Regions from separate parts of the Homo sapiens genome. Here all the other regions are linked to region 6. The links are contacts of gene promoters, found by promoter capture Hi-C in human tissues and cell types (Jung and others, 2019). All regions are on one chromosome and are shown on one strand. Each heading gives the region's core, a stretch centred on a gene start or on the middle of the fragment in contact. The rest is flanking DNA. Distances are from core to core; before and after follow the strand shown.

The links. Contacts are between HindIII fragments. The study calls those that stand out against the background at their distance.
Region 1: a fragment that was not itself captured here is called in contact with the fragment with the promoter of CYP4F3 in region 6 in 2 of the 25 tissues and cell types used here (lymphoblastoid cells and spleen).
Region 2: a fragment that was not itself captured here is called in contact with the fragment with the promoter of CYP4F3 in region 6 in 2 of the 25 tissues and cell types used here (dorsolateral prefrontal cortex and spleen).
Region 3: a fragment that was not itself captured here is called in contact with the fragment with the promoter of CYP4F3 in region 6 in 2 of the 25 tissues and cell types used here (dorsolateral prefrontal cortex and spleen).
Region 4: a fragment that was not itself captured here is called in contact with the fragment with the promoter of CYP4F3 in region 6 in 2 of the 25 tissues and cell types used here (dorsolateral prefrontal cortex and mesendoderm cells).
Region 5: a contact is called between a fragment that was not itself captured here and the fragment with the promoter of CYP4F3 in region 6, in 1 of the 25 tissues and cell types used here (lymphoblastoid cells).

Annotation. Positions count from the first base shown.
Region 1 is chr19:16,059,572-16,064,100 of GRCh38, reverse strand. No RefSeq gene overlaps it. Among named protein-coding and RNA genes, the nearest start is that of LINC01855, 3.9 kb to the left of the region's middle. The HindIII fragment of the contact is 9,039 bases long and covers 1-4,529 here.
Region 2 is chr19:16,086,262-16,090,857 of GRCh38, reverse strand. It overlaps TPM4 (tropomyosin 4), which reads right to left. Exons shown (of 8, transcript NM_003290.3): 3 at 4,318-4,435; 4 at 2,761-2,831; 5 at 1,738-1,813. Among named protein-coding and RNA genes, the nearest start is that of TPM4, 12 kb to the right of the region's middle. RefSeq lists an enhancer at 4,321-4,370. The HindIII fragment of the contact is 7,259 bases long and covers 1-4,596 here.
Region 3 is chr19:16,122,909-16,127,095 of GRCh38, reverse strand. It overlaps RAB8A (RAB8A, member RAS oncogene family), which reads right to left. Exons shown (of 8, transcript NM_005370.5): 4 at 1,549-1,626. It overlaps HSH2D-AS1 (HSH2D and RAB8A antisense RNA 1), which reads left to right. Exons shown (of 2, transcript NR_199156.1): 2 at 109-4,187. Among named protein-coding and RNA genes, the nearest start is that of RAB8A, 13 kb to the right of the region's middle. The HindIII fragment of the contact is 7,709 bases long and covers 1-4,187 here.
Region 4 is chr19:16,041,334-16,045,599 of GRCh38, reverse strand. LINC00905 (long intergenic non-protein coding RNA 905) reads right to left here. Exons shown (of 5, transcript NR_024335.2): 5 at 3,465-4,161. Among named protein-coding and RNA genes, the nearest start is that of LINC00905, 9.8 kb to the right of the region's middle. The HindIII fragment of the contact is 8,864 bases long and covers 1-4,266 here.
Region 5 is chr19:16,013,175-16,017,490 of GRCh38, reverse strand. It overlaps LINC00661 (long intergenic non-protein coding RNA 661), which reads right to left and starts at 1,857. Exons shown (of 9, transcript NR_026828.1): 1 at 1,702-1,857. It overlaps LOC105372291 (a long non-coding RNA gene), which reads left to right and starts at 2,435. Exons shown (of 2, transcript XR_936355.1): 1 at 2,435-2,520; 2 at 3,106-3,355. The HindIII fragment of the contact is 6,740 bases long and covers 1-4,316 here.
Region 6 is chr19:15,639,293-15,643,347 of GRCh38, reverse strand. It overlaps CYP4F3 (cytochrome P450 family 4 subfamily F member 3), which reads right to left and starts at 2,451. Exons shown (of 13, transcript NM_000896.3): 1 at 2,403-2,451; 2 at 1,735-1,933. The coding sequence starts at 1,932. The HindIII fragment of the contact is 9,363 bases long and covers 21-4,055 here.

The DNA.
Region 1 (4,529 bases), core at 740-3,239, 420 kb before region 6:
CCATGTGCGTGTTTTTGGAACACTGTGGTGGACATGACTCATCCCAGTGGGGCAAGACAACCAATAACTGCAATTATGGAATGAATTACAATAGGGCAAATGACTGTCTTTTGATACAAAAGTTCAAGGAGGTCAGGCAAAATGGCTCACGCCTGTAATCCCAGCACTTTGGGAGGCTGAGGTGGAAGGATCACTTGAGGTCAGGAGTTTGAGGCCAGCCTGGGCAGCATAGCAAGACCCCATCTCTACAAAAGATACAAAAACTAGCTGGGCATGGTGGTCTGTGCCTGTCGTCCCAGCTACTCAGGAGAATAAGGTAGTTGAATCACTTGGGCCCTGGAGTTTGAGGCTGCAGTGAGCTTCTTTTTTTCTTTCTTTCTTTTCTTTTCTTTCTTTCTTTCTTTCTTTCTTTCTTTCTTTCTTTCTTTCTTTCTTTCTCTTTCTTTCTTCCTTTCTTCCTTTCCTTCCTTCCTTCTTTCTTTCTTTCTTTCTTTCTTTCTTTCTTTCTTTCTTTCTTTCTTTCTTTCTCTTTCTTTCTTTCTTTCTTTCTTTCTTTCTTTCTTTCTTTCTTTCTTTCTTTCTTTCTTTCCTTCCTTCCTTCCTTCCTTCCTTCCTTCCTTCTTTCTTTCTTTCTTTCCTTCTTTCCTTCTTTCCTTCTTTCCTTTCTTTCCTTCTTTCCTTCTTTTCTTTCTTTCTCGAGACAAGGTCTCACTCTGTTGCCCAGGCTGGAGTGCAGTGGCACAATCGTGGCTCACTACAGCCTAGATCCCCCAGCTTCAATTGATCCTCCCACCTCAGCCCGCTGAGTAGCTAGGACTACGGGCATGTGCCACTATGCCTGGATACTTTTTTGTTTTTGTAGAGGTGGCGTCTTGCTATGTTGCCCAGGCTGGTCTTGAACTCCTGGGTTCAAGTGATCTTCCTGCCTTGGCCTCCCAAACTATTGGGATTACAGGCATGAGCCCCTGTGCCTGGCCTGCCGTGAGCTATTATTGCACCACTGCACTTCAGCCTGGGCATCAGATACCCCATCTCTTAAAAAATGCAAGGACAAATAGTTTATTTGGGAAGTGACCCAAGGAGATACAAGTAGAGGATGGGAAGTGAAATAGGGAAAAGAAAGTAACCATTAAGCATGCATTATGAAACCAGTTACTGCCATGGACAAATAGGGTGCAGTCCCACTGAGGGCCTCTGGAGGCAGCAGAGAGCATGCTCTTTGGAGTTGTCCCAGCTGAGGGGCGAAGGAGCTGGGGTATTTATCCACCAATTCCATGCTGCTGTTGATTGAAGGCTGCTCTTAGGGGCTGTTGATTGTGCTGATCTGCCCTTGTATGGGTCACACTCACTTCAGCAGCTGGAGGAAGACCGCCTCTCCCCCTAGCAGAGAGATGAAGCTGCTAGAAGTACCCCTTGGTGTGGAGAGAAACAGTAGGAACCCAGTGGATCTGGGCAGGCACCCAGAGTGTGAGCTAAATTTTTTTTTTTTTTTGAGATAGTCTTGCTCTGTCCTGCACTCCCAGGCTGGAGTGCAGTGGCACGATCTCGGCTCACTGCAACCTCCGCCTCCCAGGTTCAAGCAATTCTCGTGCCTCAGCCTCCCAAGTAGCTGGGATTACAGGCATGCACCACCACACCTGGCTACTTTTTGTATTTTTGCAAAGACAGGGTTTCACCATGTTGGCCAGGCTGGTCTCGAACTCCTGACCTCAGGTGGTCTGCCCACCTCGGCCTCCCAGAGTGCTGGGATTACAGGCATGAGTCACCACGCCCAGCCTAAAAATGTTAATGCATGCAAAATGCAGGCACCTGATTAGTCTTGGGTGGAAGTCAGGAAAAAGCCTCCCTGAGGAAGTGGCAATTGAGGGAGGCCTGAACGGTGGTGATGGGGTCTATGCGAAGGTCATAGGAGGAAGGGACTGAGGGCAGGTGAGAGTGTCTGCCGTTGAATGCAGAGGTGAGGATGTGGTGTGGTGTGGTGTGGTGGGTGGTGAGGCTGCAGAGATCAAACAACAGAAGAGAGGATGGGGACTGCCCCCAAATGTGTCTCCTGCAGTTTGAGACATGCAAAGAGACCAAGGCAACAGGTGAGTTTACTGAGTTCCAATAGAAAAGAGCAAAAATGTTCTCAGCTTGCACTCTATGGAGTTTCATTTCATGGGGTACAATAGAGTAATAAGATGACAAGGATGACAATAAAAATGACCCTGAAGCTGGGTGCAGTGGCTCACGCCTGTAGTCGCAGCACTTTGGGAGGCAAAGGTGGGAGAATTGCTTGAGCCCAGGAGTTCAAGATCATCCTGAGCAACAGAGCGATACCCCATCTCTACAAAAAATTTAAAAATTAGCTGGGTGTGGTGGCATGCATCTGTAGTCCCAGCTACTCCAGAGGCTGAGGCAGGAGGATCACTTGAGCCCAGGAGTTTGAGTCTGCAGTGAGCCATGCTGGTACCACTGCACTCCAGCCTGGGCAACAGAGTGAGACTCTATCTCTTAATAAAAAAAGAGTTTCTAGACCAGGTGTAGTGGCTCACACCTGTAATCCTGGTACTTTGAGAGGCCAAGGGGTTGGATCCCTTGAGGCTAGAAGTTCGAGACCAGCCTGGCCAACATGGTGACATCCCGTCCCTACTAAAAATACAAAAAAATTAGCCGGGCATAGGTGATGCACACCTGTAATCCCAGGTACTTGGGAAGCTGACAAGTATTGCTTGAACCCGGGAGGTAGAGGTTGCAATGAGCTGAGATTGCACCACTGCACTCCTGCCTGGGCTACAGAGCAAGATCCTGTTTAAAAAAAAAAAAAATTATCCGGGAAGGGGCAAACCATTGGTGGGGCGGGCAAGGAGAAAAGGGCTCTAAGTCCTCCCCAAAGTCTCTGAGCCACACTCCGAGGGAACTGTGTGGGTTAGAGAGCTTGGCCATTAATCCCGTAAAACAGGCATGACCACAAGCTTGGTGGCATCGTCACGATAATTAATAATAATTATAGTTAACACTGACATGTCTTTAATGTGTCCATGCTGTTCTACGTGCCTTGCACACATCAGCTCACTTAATTTTCACAATAACCTCGTGAGATAAGTGCTGCTGTCATTTCCATTTTATAAAAGGAGAAATTGAGGCACAGAGAGGTGAAGTAACTTGCTCAAGCCAGCACAGCTAAGAAGTGGTGGTGTTGGGAGTTGAACCAAGAGTGGCTGACTCCGGATTCTACACATTGACCCACAAACTATAACCTGAGCAGCCTCCCCTATTCAACCTCCTACCTGAGTTACCTTCATGGACAGCCACTGCCCATTAGGTGTCAATGGTGTCATTGGAGAACAATTCTCCACGGGTCTCTTGCATTTCTGTACACCCCAAAATCAGGGGCTCAGACAGCTTTTATTCCAGCTATCTTTTCAAGGATGTTTGTATAGCAAACAGCCTTGGAAGACAGAGTTTCTTCCTGTGAAGCAGAGGGCAGTTTCATTTGCTATCCATATAATAAAGATAATGTCTCCCTCTGGTATTAAAATAGACCAGGTTTGTTTGCAATCAACTATAAAAATCGAGATCTTTAAGCTCAGAGTTCCTTGGCTGTGGAACTAACCCAATGTGGGCTAGTGCAAACACAAAGTTCATGCTGCCTGCTGTGCCATGAGTAATAAAGTCCTTTGTCTCTGATACTGGAGTCTCGTGTCTTCTGCCCACATCCATAAAACTGTAGCAGGTTCAATTGTCCACTTGCAAGTAGGATAAGATCCCAGACTCTTCACAGTTCTTGACAACTACTTGTGTCTCTGGGATGACAACTGTCACCAAGGTGTTTCTCTTGGGATCCTAGATTTGGCCTGGTTAGGTCTCACTTTTACTGCTACCTTTCTTTTCTTTTCTTTTCTTTTTTTCTTAAAGAGACAGGGTCTCACTCTGTTGCCCAGGGTGGAGTTCAGTGATGCAATCATAGCTCATTGCAGCCTCCAACTCCTGGCTCAAGTGATCCTCCTGCCTCAGCCTCCCAAGTAGCTAGGACTGCAGGTGTGTGCCACCACACCTGGCTAATTTTTATTTCTTTCTCTTTTTTTTTAATTAATTTTTACATTTTTGGTAGAGGTGGGATCTTGCTATGTTGCCCAGGCTAGTCTTGAACTCCTGGCCCCTCAAGCTGTCCTCCCACCTTGGCCTCCCAAGTGCTGGGATTCCAGGTGAGATCCTCCATGCCCAGCTAAATGCAGCTACTTTTTATTTATTTATTTATTTATTTTTAATTTTTTAATTTTTAATTTTTAATTTTTTAATATTTTTTGGAGATGGAGTTTTGCTCTTGTCACCCAGGCTGGAGTGCAATGGCACGATCTCGGCTCATTGCAACCTCTGTCTCCTGAGTTCACGTGATTCTCCTGCCTCAGCCTCCTGAGTAGTCAGGATTACAGGGGCCCGCCACCACGTTTGGCTAATTTTTGTATTTTTAGTAGAGATGGGGTCTCACCATGTTGGCCAGGCTGTTCTCGAACTCCTGACCTTAGACGATCCACCTGCCTTGGCCT
Region 2 (4,596 bases), core at 1,653-4,152, 450 kb before region 6:
CCATCTCTACTAAAAAAAAAAAAAAAAAAAAAATTACACACACACACTACAGATATATGCCAGGCACAATGCTAGTACTAGGGACACAACTCTGAACAAGATGACATGGTTCCTGTCCTTACAACTTACAATCTAGCAAGGAAGGCATGCAATTAATGGAGTAACTATAATAAATGTAAGAAATCATAATGCCAGCAAAAGTATAGACAGGGCTACACAGCAGAGAAATACCTAACCTAGATGAGAAATCAGAGAAGGACTCTCAGAAGTGATGTTTAAGCAGAAGCTCAAAGGATGAACAGGAGGCCAGGCTCGGCGGCCTCCCAAAGTAATCCCAGCACTTTGGGAGGCCAAGGTGGGAGGATCACTTGAGGCCAGGAGTTCAAGACCAGCCTGGCCAACATGATGAAACCTTGTCTCTACCAAAAACTAGAAAAATTAGCCAGGCACGGTGGCCCACGCCTGTAATCCCAGCACTTTGGGAGGCTAAGGTGGGAGGATCACTTGAGGCCAGGAGTTTAAGACCAGCCTAGGCAACATAGACTGTGCTCTATAAAAAAAAAAAAAAAAATACAGTTTTGGAGTAGTGGCACATGCCTGCAAGTCCTAGCTACTCAGGAAGCTGAGGTGATAGGATTATTTAAGCCCAGGAGTTTGGGGCCTGCAGTGAGCTATGATCACGCCACTACACTTCCAGCCTAAGCAACAGAGCAAGATCTCATCTCTAGGCCAGGTGCAGTGGGTCATGCCTGTAATCCCAGCACTTTGGGAGGGCGAGGCGGGCAGATCACTTGAGATCAGGAGTTCGAGACCAGCCTGGCCAATGTGGTGAAACCTCATCTCTACCAAAAATTATAAAAATTAGCGTGTAATCGGGAGGCTGAGGTGGGAGAATTGCTTGAACTTGGGAGTCGAAGGCTGCAGTAAGCTGAGATCACGCCACTTCACTCCAGCCTGGGTGACAGAGTGAGACCCTGTCTCAAAAAAAAAGAAAAGAAAAAAAAAGGCTGAATAGGGGTTTATCAAGCAAAAGGAAAGCCACACCCAGTTGAGTGAATAGCAGGTGGTGGCTGAGGTGGGAGGATCGCTTGAGCCTGGGAGTTCAAGGCTGCAATGAACTATGATCATGCCACTGAATTCCAGCCTGGGCAACAGAGCGAAGCTCTGTCTCAAAAAAAAAAAAAAAAAAGTGGGGGGTGGAGGTGATGGGAGAACAAAGAATGTCTGTGAAACTGCAAAAGCAGGAGCAAGAATGAGGAAGAGGCTGGGAAATTCAGTGGGGTTCGGCCGTGGAAGTGTGTCCTTTGTTCCCGACGTAGCTGCCACGTAGCAACTGCTTTGGGTGCTGTTTCAAACTAAAAAGCCCAATTCCACCTCTGATCATTGCTATACCTTTGAGATGGTATTTCTGGAGGAACCAGGGGAATCAGGTGAGAGGCAGGCTCTGTATTTATTTATACAACTATGCTCAGATCTCGCTAAGAAGAGCCTCATGTTCTATCTCTATCCTCCTGAGATGGAGATCAAAGATGGTGCTCAGACCCCATGGAAGAGGACTCAAGAGTGTGCAGGAGAAATCCAGCTCTTTCTGTAGGGGAAAAACCCTGGCTGCCAGGCACCAACGCTACTGTTAAATAAAGGGCAGATTCCCCATAACCTGACAGGCTCCTGCATCCCTCGGGAGAAGAAAAGAACAAAGTCCAGCAAGCCACCCTCCAGCTCAAGCCAACCACCTACCTTTTCAGATGCAGCCTCCAGAGATTTCAGATTGTTAGTAACATTCTTGAGTTCTTCTTCCAGGTCACCACATTTTCTGCACAAAGACAAAGGATTTTTGTGTCTTATCTTCCCTTACAGCCGGCAATAATAGCAATCGCCCCAACAATAAATTTTCCAAAGGAGAAACCTACACAGCTCCCCCGGTGGGGGGCAGAAGGAATGTGGGGAGAAAATGTTAATGGATTTTTCTGCAGTGTGATACTATGGGCTTATCAAAGGCTTATCATACCAGGCAGAGGCGAGGTGCGCCCGAAGAGTATTTGGAGGGCTTGGAAAACACTCCTGGTCTTTTGCCAAGGGTAAGGCTGCAAGGACTTGTGAAATCTATGATTGATGAGGCCGACTCCGGAAGGTGTAAGAATGGGACTGAGGGCAGAAGGCGGGCAGAGAGCAATGGGAGTTTGCAGGGGACACTCCGGGAAGGAAGCCCGGAGTGGATTTGTGAAACCAGATCTCTCTCAGCACTCCCGGATGCTCTGTGGGGCTGAATTCCTCACCCGGGGCCAAGAGGACAGGTGTTTTGTTTTTCGGTGCTTGCTTGTGGGATTCTGGTTAAGCTTCTCACCTTCCCGCCAGGAATGTGTCACGGCCAAACACTGACAGGAGCAAAAGCATTTACATACTGACCGGGGGAGCCTGCCTTCTGGAGCAGGTCAGTGTTCTGTTAAGATGGCACAGCCCCCTGAGATATCCTCTCTGGGAAAATGGGACTTCTGGGCTTCCCTGCTGCCTCCTGTCTCACTCCTATTTCCTCATATCTTTGCAGAAAGGGTCAACACGTGGGCAGTGCTTCCCATGGCAGTAAGAACAAGTCACCACCTCTTTGTCACAGAAGCCAAGAGAAAAGATGAGCCATGAGCCCCTGACGCCCGTCCACTTGAGCAGAGACCCCGGTCAGAGCCAATTCCCAACACAGCCAGCTCCTTCCCACTCCGCCCCAGGAATCGAGCCAGCCTCGCTCAGTCCTGTTCTGCCACTCACAGTTCAGACACCTCCGCACGCTCCTCTGCCCTCTCCAGCTCACCCTCCAGGATGACCAGCTTACGAGCTACCTGCAGAGACAGAAAGGCCCAGCTGAGCCCGATCCCCACCAGCCGTGTCCTCTCCCATCCACTGCAGACAGCCCCCAATGATGCCCCACCCAGACCCCTAGACCAGCTGCAACATGGGTTTTTCTGGTGTTTCTTTTTTTTGCAGGGGGACGGAGTCTCCCTCTGTTGCCCAGGCTGGAGTGCAGTGGCACAGTCTCGGCTCACTGCAACCTCCACCTCCTGGGTTCAAGCGATTCTCCTGCCTCAGCCTTCCAAGTAGCTGGGACTACAGGCGCGTGCCACCACGCCCAGCTAATTTTTGTATTTTCAGTCGAGATGGGGTTTCACCGTAGTGGCCAGGCTGGTCTCGAATTCCTGACCTCCTGATCCACCTACCTCGGCCTCCCAGAGTGCTGGGATTATAGGCATGAGCCACCACACCTGGCCTCTTTTTTATTTTTTTATTCTTTTGAGACAGAGTCTCGCTCCATCACCCAGGCTGAAATGCAGTGGCTCAACCTTGACTCACTGCAACCTCTGCCTCCTGGGTTCAAGTGAATCTCCTGTCTCAGCCTTCCAAATAGCTGGGCTTACAGGCATGCACGACCATGCCCGGCTAATTTTTGTATTTTTTGTAGAGACAGGGTTTCACCACGTTGGCCAGGCTGGTCATGAACTCCTGACCTCAGGTGATCTGCCTGCCTTGGCCTCCCAAAGTGCTGGGATTACCGGCGTGAGCCACCATGCCCAGCCCTTTTATGTTTTTGACAGAGGGTCTTGCTCTGTCTCCAAGGCTGGAGTGCAGTGGCGTGGTCAGAGCTCACTGCAGCCTTGACTTCCCAGGTTCAAGCGATCCTCCTGCCTCAGCCTCCCAAGTAGCTGGGACTACAGGTGCATGCCACCACACCCAGCTAATTATTATTATTATTATTTTTAGAAATGGGGTCTCACTATGTTGCCCAGGCTGGTCTCAAACTCCTGGCCTCAGGTGATCCTCCCGCCTCGGTCGAAGTGCTGGGGTTACAGGTACGAGCCACCGCGCCTGGCCTTTTGCTGGCGCTTCAACTGAAAGAGCCATCCTGGGGCCTGGAGGAAATCCTGATTCTCTTCCTCAAGCCTGAGGAGCGAGGCAGACAAGAGGCGGGAGGGAAGAGCCGAGCCATCGAGGGAGGCAAAGGAGGGCCTGAGCTTGCATGGTCTGAAACTCCATGGCTTGGGACCACAATCCTCCATTTTTGCCCAACTGTGCCAAAACTCCCAGCTAACGACACAAGTGAGCTGATCATTCGGTTTTCCCATTACGTTAGACAAGCGTCCGCAGCACTTTCTGGCATCGTGGGAGATAGTTTCCTAGCCAAGTGGTTGTCTCTGGACAAACATATGTTCACGCAGGAGGACAGCTGACCTAACCGAGAGCTTCCTTTCGTTGGCCCCGGTGTCCTCCCTATCTCAGCAGATGCATTTCCTCCCACTTCCTGCTGCTGCGCCATCTGCCAGCCCCACTCACCTCCTCGTATTTGCGGTCAGCCTCTTCCGCAATGTGCTTGGCCTCTTTGAGCTGCATCTCCTGAATCTCCATCTTCTCCTCATCCTTCATGGCCCGGTTTTCTATCACCTTCATTCCTCTGCAAGGAGCAATCTCATCAGGACGGCCGTTCACTCACACCCCTCCACCCACCTCTCATCTATCTTTTCTTTCAGATGGAGTCTCGCTCTGTCATCCAGGCTGGAGTGCAGTGGCACGATCTCAGCTCACTGCAACCTCCACCTCCCGGGTTCAAGCGAT
Region 3 (4,187 bases), core at 207-2,706, 480 kb before region 6:
CCCCCGACCTTGGCTTTCCTCCTTCCCTCCCTGGCTCCTCTGCAAGAGGCCCCAGCTGTTGTCCTGGGACCTTCTGCTTTGACACTTTTTTTTTTGTTTTTTTTTGAGATGGAGTCTCGTTCTGTCTCCCAGGCTGGAGTGTAGTGGCATGATCTCGGCTCACTGCAACCTCTGCCTTCAGGTTCAAGCGATCCTCAACCTCCCGAATAGCTGAGATTACAGGCATCTGCCACCATACCAGGCTAATTTTTTGTATTTTTAGTAGAGACAGAGTTTCGCCATGTTGGCTAGGCTGGTCTCAAACTTCTGACCTCAGGTGATCTGCCCGCCTCAGCCTCCCAAACTGCTGGGATTACAGGCATAAGCCACCTCGCCTGGCCCTGACATTTCAACTATTTTTGGGCTCCAGAAACAGGCCGTGCCTGAGGTGGTCGCAACTCGAGGCCGTCACCAGCTGCAGGCACTTCACCACCCTGTCTGATGTTGCCCAAACTCTGCCCTCATACCCAAAGGCAGCTCCTTCGTCAAGTCTCCCTGGGTCCCCATGGAGCGGACCACGCTTCCTGGAGGACGGGGACACTGGAAACTGCTGTCTTCTTCCACCAGCTCAGACTTGGTCTCTGGAACCTACTGCGCCACTCCCTGCCTCACTTCCCATGAACCAGAAGGTGGCTCCTGCCCGCTGGCCAGAAACAGAGACCTTTCACAAAGACCAGGCTCTCCTCCTCTCCACGGATGAAGACAGCTTTCCCAGCTGGGGTGCAGCCCTGCACTGGCAAATTTGGCAGCACAGCCCTCTCAGGGTCACTGGGGAGGTGAGCCCAGTGCAATGACTCACAAATGATGGGGTGGCCTCTCGGCCTGGCCTGGGAGGTCCATGAGTCCTGGGTGGACAGTGATATGCCCTTTTGCTGTGGTTTTATAGATGGGAAAAGTTCTCTGGCTGTGCCTCAGACCTGAAGCCCCACATGGTTAGTTATAGAAAGCTGCAGGTGCCGGCAGCCAGGAAGGCTTTGGGGGTGAGGTCAGCTCTTTGGGGAGCAGAAGATGAAGATGCTGGCTTTGGGAGGGGAGGAGGGGTTGGCCTACTTCTCACTGCTCTATGGTTCAAGGTCTGAACACAGGTCGTTTGTACCAGGTCACACCCTGCTCCGATATAGCTCAAAGTACAACTGACGCCTGCTCACCACACCCTCCAACTACAAGGGTCACACCTGTGCTAGACCCTTCCTTCTCTAGAAAGCACCCAACACTCATGGTGACCACAAGCTTGGATATCCTTTCTCTTATAACCATGACACTGGCCAGATCCAACAGCCTAGCTGGAGGGATGGGCTCCGAGGGGCTCCGGGGTGGGGCCAGGCCAGTGTGTGGTCCCTGGGGCCGGCTGCTTGCATCTCAGTCCCTGCTCCCACCATGTCCCTGACTAGGAGGCTGTGGGCAAGTGGCCTGTATGTGTCTCTGCACCTTGGCCTTCTCATGAGTAAACCAGAGGGCTCTGGGACAAGGACTGAAGCAGGGACAGTGGGAGGAGCCGGAGGGCCTCACCTCCTCAATGTTGCGAATCCAGTTCCGGATGTTGTCGAAGGACTTCTCGTTGGTGATGTCGTAGACCAGCATGATGCCCTGCGCGGGGAGAGAAGACACAGGTGCCTGATCGGCTGCAGGCTCTGGAAGGGAGGCCTCAGCGGCACCAGAGAACAGTGGTGGGGAGCCCAGCACCCACTGCACAGCCAGGCCCATTAGCTGCCGCCCTCCCCACCTCTGTGGAGCCCCGGAAGCCAGCCCCCTCCTCTCCATCCCTGTGGCCCTTCTTTCTGCTGGGTTCTGGCACCAGCCTTGTCCTGCCCCCCGGGCCGCTGAGGTGACCCTTCTGCCTCACAGGCCAGCCCCTGCCACGCACTCGCTGACAAGCCCGGCTGGCTCCCCTCATGGCCCACGGGGTGGTGCAGCCTGACGGTGGGAGCCGGTCCACAGGCCCACTGCCAGCAGCACTCCCCTCACGCTGACCCTCCCCTGCAATCGGCCTCCTCTTCACCCCTTGCTCACCCCACGCTCTGCCTGAGCCACCTACCAGGCACAACTGAGCCCAGGAAGTCCTGACCCGACATCCACACAACTTCCAGTGACCCCACCACAGAGGGAACCGGCTGTGTGAAGATGGAGCCGAGAGTGCCAAGGCCCTTCCAGTTCCCTAACCTAGACGTGAGCAACTGGGAGACGGCTCGTGGGTCCTGGAAGAGCTTCGGGGCAGCCCCGCCTCAGCCTGGGTCCACAGCCTCGCTACTGCTGTGGACAAGCGCAAACATGCCCATGCGATGCAAGGGGAAACTGAGGCACAGAGACGTGACCTTTAAGATTCAAGCACGGGGGGCGGGGGGGGGCTAACTCCAAAAGCACTGATGACACCTATCCTCTCAGCAATATCCCTGGGCCTTTTTCAGCCCCAGAACCCACATGTGGGGGCCACCCTCTGACGGTCTGTGTGGTTCTCGATGTCCTTGTGGAGTGCCCACAGCGGGCCAGCCTGCAGTGCCATCACAAGTCCCCCTTTGTTGCCGGGCATCCTGGGCTCCAAGGCACGTGGCCTGCTCATGGCCAGGCCTGGATTTCTTCCTTCCTCCTCGCTACCTGCTCCCCAGGCCCAGCCCTGCATCTGTGGCACCTGAGGGCACTGATGACTTCTGCTGCTGGCCAAGTTGTCTGGGGCCATCCAAGTTTGCAGAATAAGGACACGGGCCATGTGGTAATGGTGAGACAGATGTGGGTGCAAGAGTGTGGGACAAAAACGACACAGATGGGGCAAGAAAGTCACTGCAACCCCAAATCCTCCTGGGAATTCAGGGACATGAATAATGGCCTCACAGTCAGCCGCAACCATGGCGAAGAACCTCAAGGCTGCAGTGGCCCATGATGTCTGCCATGCCCCATCCACGGTGGGCACACCCTGTGACTGTGACATGGTCAGGGACAGGGGGCGTGGGGCCCTTTATCCGGGGACTGGACCCTCTGAAAGCCCAGGATTCCTGCCTTCACCACTAAGTTGGTGACATGTGCCTAAGACTCAAATTCCTGGATTATACCTATTTCAGGGAGCTGAGGGGAGAACCTGGACGTTAGTGGGGCAGTGGGTAGAGCTCTCTCTTAGAATCAAGCAGAAGCACCTGGAAAACACTGAGCCAGCCATCCTATTCCAGGTTTTCCTGGAAACACCCCTCAGGGCTCCAAGTGACTATTTTCCAGGGCCCCGTCTGGGCAAACCTCACCATGGGTCTCTAGGCATCCAATGCTTCCCAAACTTGGGATTTTGAGGCCCAAGGGTCTATGAGCATGCTGACAGAGATGAGGACACAGCTGCAATGGTGGTGCTGTCCCATATGACTGATACTGGCTACACAAGGCTCTAGGGCATCAGAAACATAGCTGCTTTGACCCAAGGAGCTGGATTTTCAATGTTTTTTAAAATTAATTAATTAATTAAGTAGTTAAGCGACGGATACTTGCTCTGCTGCCCAGACTGGAGTGCAGTGGTGCAACCTCGGCTCACCGCAACCTCCGGCTCCCAGGTTTAAGCGATTCTCCTGCCTCACCCTCCTGAGTAGCTGGGATTACAGGCATCCGCCACCACGCCCAGCTAATTTTTGTATTTTTAGTAGAGATGGAATTTTACCATGTGGCCAGGCTGGTCTCCAACTCCTGACCTCAAGAGATCTACCCACCTCGGCCTCCCAAAGTGCTGGGATTACAGGCATCAGCCACTGCGCCTGGCTGGATTTTCAATGTTAATTGGGTAAATTCAAATAGCCACATGCAGCCAGTGGTGGCATCTGTTCAGGTTGGCCTGGGTCTAGGAGGATGGAAAGCCACGATCATCTTGGTGCTGGTTGAGGATGTGGGTGCTAGAGACAAACAGCCCAGCCCAGCCTAGCCATTTACCTGCTGAGTGAACTTCAGCGGGGCAGGCCACCGGGCCAAACCTCAGGTTCTTTGTTATAAAACAGGGATGACAATGGCGCCTGCACAAAGAGGTTCACAGCCAAAATGCAATGAGATAATCTGAGCTAAGACCTGGGCCCACTGCCTGGTGCAGGGGAGGGCTTGGTGGTCAGGGCAGGGTGGAAGGTGGCTATTTGGGCCCAGAGAAGATCGGGACAGGCCCCAGGTCACAGTTTTCTCCAGAGGCTGAA
Region 4 (4,266 bases), core at 1,395-3,894, 400 kb before region 6:
GTCTTGATCTCCTGACCTCGTGATCTGCTTGCCTCGGCCTCCCAAAGTACTGGGATTAGGCATGAGCCACTGCACCCGGCTGAGACTTCTATTTTTCTATTTAAGTATTTCTATAAGTGTTGAGTCTTCTCTCAGGTTCTATTGAACTAACAGAATTATAATTAAAAGCAAAGTCCTAGTTCTCATAATACTGTCTGAGGTTTTGTTTGTTTGTTTGTTTTGGACAGAGTCTCTCGCTCTGTCCCTCAGGCTGGAGTGCAGTGGCTTGACCTTGGCTCACTGCAACCTCTGCCTTTTGGGCTCAAGCAATCCTCCCACCTCATCCTCCTGAGTAGCTGGGATTAGAGGTGTGCACCTCCATGCCTGGCTAATTTTTGTATGTTTTGTAGAGATAGGGTTTCGCCATGTTGCCCAGGCTGGTCTCCAACTCCTGGGCTCAAGCGATCTGCCCACCTTGGCCTCTCAAAGTGCTGGGATGACGGGCATGAGCTACTGTGTCTGGCCAGAACTTTATTTCTGTATATTGCTGAGTAATATTCCATTGTCCCGGACGGACACTTGGATTGTTACTACCTTTTGACTAGCGTGAATAGAGCTGCTATGATGTCAGTGTACAAATATCTATTTGCGGTCCTGTTTTCAGTTCTTTTGGGTATATCTCTAGGAGCGGAATTGCGGGGGCATGTGGGAGTTCTATATTTAGCTTTTTGAGAAACTGCCAGATTATTTTCCATAGTGGCTGCACCATTTTGCATTCCCACCAGCAATGCACAAGGATTCCAATTTCTCCACATACTTGCTGACATTTGTAGTTATATTTTTGCTTATAGCCACCTCAGGGAGTGTGAAGTGTGAAGTCTTTCTCTCTCTTTTTTTTTTTTTTGAGATAGTCTCACTCTGTCATCCAGGCTGGAGTGCAGTGGCGTGATCTCAGCTCACTACCTCCGCCTCCTGGGTTCAAGGGATTCTCCTGCCTCAGCCTCCTGGGTAGCTGGGATTACAGGCATCAGCCACCACTCCCCACTAATTTTTGTATTTTTAGTAGAGACAGGGTTTTGCCATGTTGGTCAGGCTGGTCTCAAACTCCTGACCTCAAGTGATCCTCCTGCCTTCACCTCCCAAAGTGCTGGGATTACATGCCTGGCCTCATTTTGGTTTTGATTTGCATTTATCTGATGGCTAATCATGTTGAACATCTTTTCATGTTCCAACATTAAAAATTTTTTTTTCTTTTTTTTGTAGAGATAGGGTCTCACTATGTGTGTTACTCAGGCTGGTCTCAAACTCCTGGTCTCAATGGATCCTCCTGCCTTGGCCTCCCAAGGCACTGGGGTTACAGTTGTGGGCCATTGTGTAACAGTTTTGTACAGGCATATTGATTTAAAAACTAAATATTGCACCACCAGAGTAGTGTGAACACTATAAAACATGTTTTCCAAACTGAAATTAACAGGGGAAGCTATTAGCATATAATAAACTCTTGGGTGTGTCATACCATCTTAATACTGATACTAAGAATAGCCAGTACTTTGATGCATGCCTTGGGGCAAAATTCATGGTTAAGGGTCGTGGATGGGTCCCTCACAACCTGGCTCCACTTGTCCTTGCCAGTCTCCTCTGTAGTCATTTCCCACTCCCTACTGTATCCTGAAACCAGGTTTTCTTGAGCTGCAGGGCCTTTGCCTCTGCAGTTTCCTCTGCTTGGAATGTCCCTGTTCCTACAGACGATTCCTCATACCCTGCTTTCCATACCAAGCCCAAGCACCTTCTATGGGACATATTCCTGTCACTACTCCCCATTTCCGGGCCCTTGCTCTGGCCCATCCCTAAACATCCATTCACCCATTCATCTCTCCATCCCTCCTTTCATCCCTTTATCCATCTACCCATCCCTCCATTCCTTCATTCATCCATCCATCCACCCAGTCATTCATCCCTTTATCCCTCCCTTCATCCCTTCATCCATTCATCCATCTACCCATTCATCATCCATCCCTCCATCCACTCATTTATTCATCCATCCTCTGCCCATTCATCCCTCCATCCCTTCATCCATCCACCCATCCATCCCTCCATCCCTCCCTCCATCCATTCATCCATCTACCCATTCATCCATCCCTCCCTCCATTCCTCCATCCATCCACCCATCCATCTACCCATTCATCCCTTCATCCCTCCATCCATTCGTTTATTCATCCATCCTCCACCCATTCATCCATCCATCCATCCATCCATCCACCCACCCATCCACCCCTCCTTTCCTCCCTCCCTCCATTCATCCATCTACCCATTCATCCCTTCATCCCTCCATCCATTCGTTTATTCATCTATCCTCCACCCATTCATCCCTCCATCCCTTCATCCATCCACCCATCCATCCCTCCATCCCTCCCTGCATCCATTCATCCATCTACCCATTCATCCATCCATCCCTCCATTCCTCCATTCATCCATCCATCCATCCATCCATCCATCCATCCATCCATCCACTCATTCATCCTTCCATCCCTTCATCCATCCACCCATCCAACCATTCATCCCGGCCTCTCTCCTTCCCTCCCTCCCTTCCTTCATTGAACACACAGGCCAGTGATGTCTGTGTCTGGCTCTGTGCTCCAACCCCCAGAGAGGAGCCTCTCAAGAGTAGGGTTTTGGGTTGAGCTTTCTCTACTGCCCCGACACGGCTCAGCACAGGGCTGTTGTTGAATGTGCCTGATTTTGCAGGATGACTTTGTGAGCCAGTATTCATATTTTTGCAATGAGGTCATATGTATTTTGAGTGGCATGGGAAGGCCCTACAAGGACAAGCCTATCATGCTTATGCACCTGTGTTCATTCATTCATTCATTCATTCATTCATTCATTCATTCATTCATTCGTTATTGAGCCCTTAGGATGTTCCAGGTGAAGACAAACAGTATCTTGTCCCTTGGGACCAGGGAAGGTTTTCCTGAAGTGGTAACACTGAGCTAAAATATGAAGGATGAATGGGAGGTGAATTGGCTGATGTGGGAAGGGAAGGGTGATGGAGGCCAAAGGGAACAGCATAGGTGAAGGCAGAGGGCTGTATGGCACATCCCTGGGTACCTGCACTCGTGGAGGACTTGTTTAATATCAAACATTAAAAGGCACTCACATTGAATGTATTTCTTCCTGTTAAAACAAGAAGAAGCTGGGTGCGGTGGCTAACACTTATAATCCCAGCACTTTGGGAGGCCGAGGCAGGAGGATCACTTGAGCCCAGGAGTTTGAGACCAGCCCTGGCAACATAGTGAGACCCTGACTCTAAAAAAATAAAAAAAATTAGTCGGGCGTGGTGGTGTGCATCCTCGCAGCTACTTGGGAGGCTGAAGTGGGAAGACGGTTTGAGTCCAGGAATTTGAGGCTGCAGTGAGCTGTGATTGCGCCACTGCACTCCAGCCTGGGCAACAGAGCAAGACCCTGATACACACACACACAAAGTTAAAAAAGTAGAAAGGATCGTTATCTTTTTGCTTTTGAAGTTATTGGGGTCCCATTAAACTCATATGCTTCTTGGGCATGTACAGGCATTCTTGCCAACAGAGAACATCTAACCCACAAAAACTTTCCAACGTGATGACACCGTGGGGGGGATTCTGGAGCCAACAGTGAATCCAGGTGGCACTATGTCTAGCTAAGTAGACATTTCCTTCAAGCGTTCATTGATTTTGATTTTGCAGCCTTGCTTTTACGTTGTCAAATATCAAAGTGTGTGGTTTTACAGTTTTTTTTTCCTTCCAGGTCTTTAACGTTTTCGGGGACCTCTGGAAAACCTACAGGCGCGGCCCTGGGAAGCTCTGGGTCCCTAGGAGGGGAGGTGACTCCGCGGCGTCCCGGGAATGATCCTCGCGGAGCTCGCGAGGTACTAGCGCCCCCCAGCGTCTGGATTGAGAAACGCACCCTGCGAGGGTGGAGAACCAGCCCAGCCCCAAAGTGAGGTGGCAGAAAAACGAACTCACGGCCAAGGACTGGCTGAGGTTAGCCAGAATTGTGTAAATGTGTTTTGTCTTGCTGGGCTGCCCCCTCTCCTGGTCCTTTGGCTAGGGAGAACAGGATTTTGTTTGGGATTTTTCTTTTGCTTTTTTCGACTGTGCCTGTTGGCGTTCGCGGGTTGCCAGCTTCTTCAGGTCCAAGCCTGGGCTGTATGTGGCGAAAAACAAAACAAAACACCAAAGAATTGACTTTCGTGTCATTCCTTGGGTCCTGAAATTCCCACTGTGTCTGCCTTCCCTCCATCATTCAGAG
Region 5 (4,316 bases), core at 1,649-4,148, 370 kb before region 6:
GATGTGCAATCCAGAACACGGAGGTCACAGAGGTCAAGGCTTGAGTTCAGCATGGCACAGGCCAGGGCTGAGAGCATGGCCCAGGGCCACGTCTGGGTCTCTGGGCCAGTTACTGCCCCTCTGACCTCAGGCGTCTCACCTATTCAGTGGGTACATTTGAGGAAAGCACCCCTCCACCCCGCCATGGAGTCGCCGTGAGGATGAAGGAGACGACTGTTTGCATGGTCAGCATAGAACGGGCACCCGGTGAGTGCTCATGGATGACCCTCCTCGGGTAGCTGCCACCCACCTGGTTGTGACTGTCCCCAAGTCAGCAGGGGGGAAGAGAGCAGGTCACGCTTTCCTGAGTCTGATCAGGCAGCGGTGCTGAGATGTGCTTCTCACCCAGAAAAGGGTCCTTTCTGCACAACCACTTACAGCACCTCTGTGTCTCCAACTGCTCCATGACACGGAGGTAGGCTGGCGGCACTTGGCACAGTGACAGCATGGGTTCACAGCCTCTGTCATGACGGGGCCCTACCTGGCTCAGCAGGGCCCAGGGTCAGCGTCCTCTGCCCGCTTAATGGTCAACATGTATGCGTGCAATTTGTCTGTGTATGTGAGGATGCATGTGTGTGGGTGAACACGTCTCTCCTCCAGCTGGGCCTGGCTGCTCCACTCAGGTGTGCACCTGGATCCCTGTCACTGTCACCCCCGGGCCTGTGGCCAGCATCAGAGCACCCATAGGTGCTCCTCAGCCTCTGCTCTTTCCATGCTGGGTGGTCCTGGGGATGCAGATGGGGCAGGGACATAGGGCAAAGGGCAGAGGGCAGAGGGCAGAGGGCAGAAGCCAGGCTTCCCCCTTGGGGTGACTCGCGTAGTGTGTAAAGTGCCAGGTCTGTGTGGCAGGGCTGGATTCAATGCAATGCACCCTCTCACCTCCTCCTCCCAGAAGCCCACTGGGGTGCTGTGACTCACCCCCCACCCCATGGATGGAGGCAATCACGGAGGCTTCGAGGACTAACCCGTGGCCTGAGATCACCCAGGATCCCACTGGCCAGGCTTCCAATGGTTAAGCTCCCACTGAACAGGTCCTAGCTGACCACCCCCACAATGACCAGGTCCCACTGACCAGATGTGGACTGACCAGGTCCTGCTGACTGGGCCCCACAGACCAGGCCCTGGCTCATCAGACACCACTGACAAAGGCCACAATAACAAGGCTGCAACTGACAAGGCCCTCACGGCCCTCACTGACTAGGTCCCAACTGATGGACCCCACCAAATAGATCTCACTAATCAGACCCCCGCTGACCAGGCCCTAACAACTGCTGGACCCCTGCTGGCCAGGCCCCAAATGCTGAACCCCACTCACCAGGCCCCAAAAGCTGAACCCCACTGACTGGGCCCCAAATGCTGGATCCCTGCTGACAGGCCCCAACTATGGGATCCCCACCAACCAGGCGCCAACTGTCAGACCCCTGCCAACCAGGCCCCGGACGCTGGACTCCACTGACCATGTCCCAGCTACTGGACCCCCACTGACCAGGCCCCAACAACTGCTGGACTGCACTGATCAAGCCCAAACTGCCAGACCCCACTGACTGGGCCCCAACTCCTAGACCCCTCCTGACTGAGCCCCAACTGCCAGACCCTTGCCAACCAGGCCTCTTCTTATGAGACCCCTGCTGACCAGACCCCAACTGCTGGGCCCCTGCTTACCAGGCCCCCACATCCACACCTCACTGACTAGGCCTCACTGCTCTGATCCCCGCCGATCAGGCCCCAAATGCCGGGCCCAGATGACCAGGCCTCAACTGCTAGACGGCCCACCAACCAGGCCTCAGCTCCTGGACCCCTGTTGACCAGGCCCCAACTGCCAGACCCCAATGACCAGGCCCCAACTGCCAGAGCCCTGCTGACCAGGTTCCAACTGCTGGATCCCCTTTGACCAGGCCCCAACTGTTGGACCCCCGACAACCAGGTCCCAACTGCCTGATTCCGCCAACCAGGCCCCAACTGGTAGACCCCTGCTGACCAGGTCCCAACTGCGAGACCCATGCAGATGAAGGCCCAGCGTCCAGACCTCACTGCCTAGACCGCACTGATCTGATCCTCACTGACCAGGCCCCAACCGCCAGACCCCACCTACCAGGTCCCAGCTGCTGCATCCCTGCCAAATAACCCCCAGCTGCCGTATCCCCTCTGACCAGGCCCCAACTGCTGGACCCCCTCCAAACAGGCCCCAACTATAAGACCCCGCTGACCAGGCCCCAACTGCCAGACCCCCATGGACGAGGCTGCAACTGCCAGATCTCTGCTCACCAGGCCCCAACTGTGGGACCCCCGCTGGCCAGACCCCAACCATGAGACCCTCGCCAAACACGCCCCAACTACTGGACTCTTGCTGGCCAGGCCCCAACCCCCAGGGCCTAGTCAGTCAGTGAGACCTGACTAGGTCTCACTGATCAGATCCCCGCTGACCTTGCCCCAGCTGCAGACCCCTATTGACTGTGGGCGGAGGATTACCCAGGTGCCGAGGTGAGAGACTGAAGACACAAACTGTTTCAGTATAATAAAGAAAATAGTTAGAATAAGAATAGTCATAATACAAATTAGATATAGAGATGATCATGGACAATTATCAATCATTATTATAAACATTATTAATCATTAGCTTTTAATATTACTCTTTGTTGCGTTACTAACATAACCTAGGAATAACTGGCGGGTAGAGGGTCAGGTGCTGAAGGGACATTGTTAGAAGTGACCTAGAAGGCAAGAGGTGAGCCCTCTGTCAACGCGTGCATAAGGGCAGCTTGAGGGCTCCTTGGTCAAGCGGTAACGCCAGTGTCTGGGAAGGCGCCCGTTACTTAGCAGACTGCGAAAGGGAGTCTCCTTTCCTTGGAGGAGTCAGGGAACACTGCTCCACCAGCTTCTTGTGGAAGGCTGGATATTATCTAGGCCTGCCGCAGTCATCCGGAGGCCTAAACCCCTCCTTGTGGTGCTGTGCTCCAATGGTCACTTTCATGTTCCTCCCGTACTCCTGGTTCCTCTTTGAAATTTGTAGTAGATAGCGGTAGAAGGAATAGTGAAAGTCTTACAGTCTTTGATCTTTCTTGTAAGTGCATAGAAGAAAACGCTGACGTATGCTGCCTTCTCTCTCTCTGCTTCGGCTACCTAAGAGGGAAGGGCCCCCTGTGCTGTGATCACGTGACTTGCTTCACCTTGTCAATCACTTAGAAGATTCACCCTCCTGACCCTACGCCCCTTGTCTTGTATGCAATAAATATCAGTGTGCCCAGCCATTCAGGGCCACTACTGGTCTCCGCGTCTTGATGGTAGTGGTCCCTCGGGCCCAGCTGTTTTCTCTTTATCTCTTGGTCTTGTGTCTTTATTTCTTACGCTCTCTCGTCTCTGCACACGGGGAGAACACCCGCTAAGTCCCGTAGGGCTGGACCCTCCAATCAACCAGGTCCCAACTGCTGGACCCCACTGACCAGGCCCCAGGAACTGCCGGCCGCCTGCTGACCAGGCCCCACTGGTCCGATCCCCACTGAGCAGTCCCCTGCTGATCAAACCCCACTGACCAGATTTTCCATGACCTGACCCTCATTGAATGGATCCCGTTAAGCCGACCACAATGACCATGTCCTCACTGACCAACACCCCCGTGAGTAGGCCCCCCCACTGACTAGGCTTCTGATGACCAGGCCCACACTGCCAGGGCCCCACTGACCAGACCACATGACATGGCCCCACAGACCAGGCCCCACTGACCCAAACCACTGACTGGTCCCAACTGGCCAGGAGCTCAATGACAAGGTCACTGCCAACAGTGCCCCTTACAACCAGGCCTCCACTGACCAGGGCCCCACTGAGTAGGCCCCACTGGGGAGTCCTTCGGTGGCACCGCATTAGCTGACCACACCCCTGACAACCAGGTCTCTGCTGACATGGTCCCCACAGAACACGTCCCCATTGACCAGGTCCCAAATAACCAAATCCCATGGACCGGGATCTGCTGACTAGGCCACACTGACATGCTTCCAATGGTGAGACCTTCGCTGACTGAGCAGGACCACACCGCCAGGCCTCAGCTGACTAGACCACAATGACGAGGTTTCCACTGACCAGGTGCTAACCGCCCAACCCCTACTAACGAGGCTCTACTTTTCAGATCCCGCTGACCAGACCCCCAGTGACCAGGCCCCTACTGAACAAAATACCACTCCCTACACCCCCACTGACTAGGTTTTTTGTTGTTTGTTTTTGAGATGGAGGCTGCCTCTGTCACCCATGTTGGAGTACAGTGGTGTGATCTTGGCTCACTGCAA
Region 6 (4,055 bases), core at 1,202-3,701:
ATGTATCTATCTGTCTATCTATCTATCTATCTAATCTATCTATCTACCTATGTTTCTATGTATCTATCCATCTATCTAATCCATCCATTCTATCTTATATATCTGTCTATCTATCCATTCATCTATCCTATCTGTGCATCCATTCATCCATCTAGCCTATTATCTATCTACCTACCTATCTATCTATTCATTTATCTATCTAATCTATTCATCCTATCTAACTTTTCTATCTATATATCTATCTGCCCATCCATCCATCCATCCATCCATCTTATCTGTACATTCATCCACTCATCCATTTATCCTATTATCTATCAATCATCTAGCTATCTATCCATCCATCTAATCTATCCATCCTACATATCCACTCTACCTATCTATCCACCTAATGTATCCATCTTATCTACTACTTTATGTATGTATTATCCATCCATCCATCCATCCATCCATCCATCCATCCATCTTATCCATGCATCCATCTGTCCATCCATCCATCTATCCTGTTATCTATCTATCTATCTGTCTATCTACCCACCTACTTATCCAGCCAGCCAGCCATCTATTCACCCTATCTGTGCATCCATCCATCCATCTATCCTATTACCTATCTATCTGTCTACATTCCTCCTGCTCTATCTCTCTTGGGGCCACCCCCAAGTCCCAAGAGCGCATCCCAAGGCAGAAGGAAAAGACACACTGTCCACTCACAGAGGCCCACTTAGCTTGAGAGGAAAAATTTCCTTGTTCTGGGAGTCATTTCAGCCCAGAGGTGGGCATATGAGGAGGTCCTCACAGGGGAGGTTTGTGGGGAGCAGTGTGGACTCAGGACATGTCCCTAAGGCTGGTCCCCACATCCCTTCATGCCCTGGCTGGTTCCTCCACCAGCCACACAGGTTCCAGTTCCTCCCATGGAGAAGGTTCTGCACACAGGGGACCTTCCCTTCTCAGCAGTCACTAGGGGAGCAGAGGTGACTCTAACTGTCCATCATGACAGTGGCTCCCACCTGGGAGAAGCTTCTGCACCAGGCTCTGTGCTAGTGCATCCTGTGCACCCTCCCACTTCACCTGTGGACACACCCATCAATCCTGCCATTTGCAATGAGCAGATTGAGACCACGTTCCGCAAAGGGGAGAGCAGGTCTAAGTCAGAGGGCAAGGTCTGGGGGAGGAGAAAGGTCAGGGAAGGCTTCTGAAAGGGGAAGTGAGTGGCCAACTTTTATGTGGGTTTGGCAACAGGACCCCATTGGGACATCTTACTGGGGAGGAACAAGATAAGAGGAAGGTGCCTCCGGATGTGGTGGAGGTGAGAGACAGCCCACACCTCTCCTCTGGCCCACCTATACCCTCATAAGAGGAAATAGGCCAGGTAGGGAGAGGACCCTGAACAGTGGGTACAGGAGGCCTCGAGTCCAGCAATGGAGAATGTGGGAACGCCAGGGGTTCACCTTTCTGTGCACCCAACCCCCTGCCCAAGAGCCCCGCAGAGGTGCATTAATGTGGAAAGACAGGCAGGAAAAGGATTCAACACAGGCCAAGAGTGGGAGAACAGGGAGGTGAGAAGGGCTTGGGTTGGCACCTCACAGAAATGAGTAAGCAGAGGAATGAGTAAGACGCCTCCCCTGCTTCTCTGCCACCCCAGACCCCAGCCCACCCCCTCTCACCTGAGCCTCATTCTTACCCCTCAGGAAGTCCATCCACCCTGAGACCCCAGACCCGTCCTGCTGCCACACTCACCAGGCCCAGGTGACCCAAGAACCAATTCCGTTTCGGGGGTTGCGGGAAACACCGGAGGCGGCAGCAGTTGTCATAGAAGGTATAGGTCCAGGCCAGGATGCGGGCCAGGAGCCAGGAGGCCCCAACCAGCAGCAGGAGCAGCCACGGGGATGCTGCCATTGGCCAAAGGCCCAGCGAGGACAGGCTCAGCTGTGGCATCCTGCAGGGCAGATGGGGTGGTGAGTGAGGTCCTGAGGCCCAGGGAAGGGCCCAGGGAGCTCCAGGGACAGTGGAGAGAGGCAGAGACGGGCAGTGCTGGAGATAGAACAGTAAGAGTAAACAGGGATGGATAAACAGGGGCTGAGGGGTAAAGTCCAGAAAGGCCCAGCCAAAACCAGCAACCAAGTGGCCTCCAGTTACCCGGTAAGCACTTAGATTGAGAAAGACAGAGAAACTGATTAAAGTCCAGAAAGGCCCAGCCTGAATCATTAGGACGTTGCCAGGGGCTTGGTTTCAGTTAGAAAACCACTCATCCTCCAAGCCAGCAACCAGGAGCTGCCTGGGCCTTGGGCAGCAATGGAGAATGTGGGAAGGCTGGGGCTCCCCTATGTGTGCGCCCAATCCCTTGCCCAGTGCCCATCTCCATCACAGGCTAGGATGCCCCAGGCCCACCACCCCCACCCTGGCACCTTCTGTCAGGAGCACCTTGTCCCACACAACCTCCTCTCCCCTTCTTCTGGGAGGTTTTTTCCCCTGGCCCCTGATGTAGGGAAGGCTGTGGGAGGCTAGGCTGGGCTGGGCTGGGCCAGCCAATCCCCACAGCCTGGGTGCCGCTCCCATGTCTGGGCAGCTGGCCAAAACCTGGGTGTGGGAGACCAGCTGGATGCAGAGGAACCAGCTCAGGGTGACACAGCACAGGCACTGGATCCTCAGGTCTCAGCACCTCCCACATAAGGTGGAGAGTAAGCCGAGAGGGGTCAGATAGAGTTTCCACTGTGTGACACCTGCTCTTAAAGAGCACCTACTGAGTGTGTGGCAGATAAAAGCATGAACTTGAGAGTTCAGGTGTCAAGCGAGCCAGGCCAGGCCAAGCCTTGTTCCAGATCATCTCCTGTGCTCCTCTCTAACCCTGGGCCGGTAGGACACCGTGTACCACTTCTGGATGCTGAATCAGGCAACCTGGAAGAGACAAGCCTCTATCCCCCTGCTGCTGGATGGAGTTCAAGTCTTGCCTCCAGGCAGTCCAGGGCCCTGTTGGAGACCTGACTGCTAGGAACGGGAACAAAGAATCCAGCCCCACTGAGGATTACCTGGGTCAGATTCTGGAGATTAAGAGCTCAGCTGGAAAAGCAAATCTGGAGGCCGGACTCAGTATAGGAGGACAGAGCGGGGACGTGGAGGGTTAGGATGAGAGGGAACGGATGGGGTCCAGGCAGGGGAAGGGCAGAGCCAGGGAACCATGAATGGAGTCCTCATTCTGCCTCATCCTTGCTCTGACTTTGGTCAGTACTGCCCCTCCTGGGTGCAGTCTTCCCATCTGGGAAATGGGATGTTCGATGAGGGCCTTAGCGGGGGACAATGAGGGCTCCTAAGAGGAGGGAGCCCCAAAAAGGAGTGAAGGGAAAGGGTGGCAACTAGCACTTGAGCTGCTGTGTGCCAGTCTCTACTCTGCACAAAGGCTGCATGGAAAGTACTTCTACTGTGTGCCAATACTCTAAATGAAGGGCAGCTACTGTGTGCCAGGTGCTAAATCCTGTCTACTCTGTGCCAAGTGCTTTCCATAAAGTGTGCCTACTGTGTGCCAGGTGCTCTACATTAACCCTGTATACTCAGTTCCTGATATTCCTCATAGAGTGCCTACTGTGTGCCACCTGCTCTACATAGTGAGTGCCTATTGAGTGCCACCCCCTGTATATGAAGAGTGCCCACTGAGCACCAGTTGCTGTCTACATAACACATGCCTACTGAGTGCCAAGTGCTCTACATAAACAGTGCCTACTGATACCACCTGCTCTATATGGTGACTTCCTACTGAGTGTTTCCTGATCTACATAAAGAGGGTCTATTGAGTGCTGCCTGCTCGAGTGTTGCCTGTGCTCCATAAAGTGTACCTACTGTGGGCTGCCTTCTGTACATAAAGGGTGCCTACTGAGTGCTGCTTGCTCTACATGAAGAGTTCCTACTCTTGCCTGCGCTACATAAAAAGTGCCTACTCAGTACCACCTGCAATACATAAAGAGTGCCTACTGGCCAGGCACAGTAGCTCATGCCTGTAATCCAAGCACTTTGGGAGGCCAAGGCAGGCAGATCATCTGAGGTCGGGAGTTCAAGACCAGCCTGGC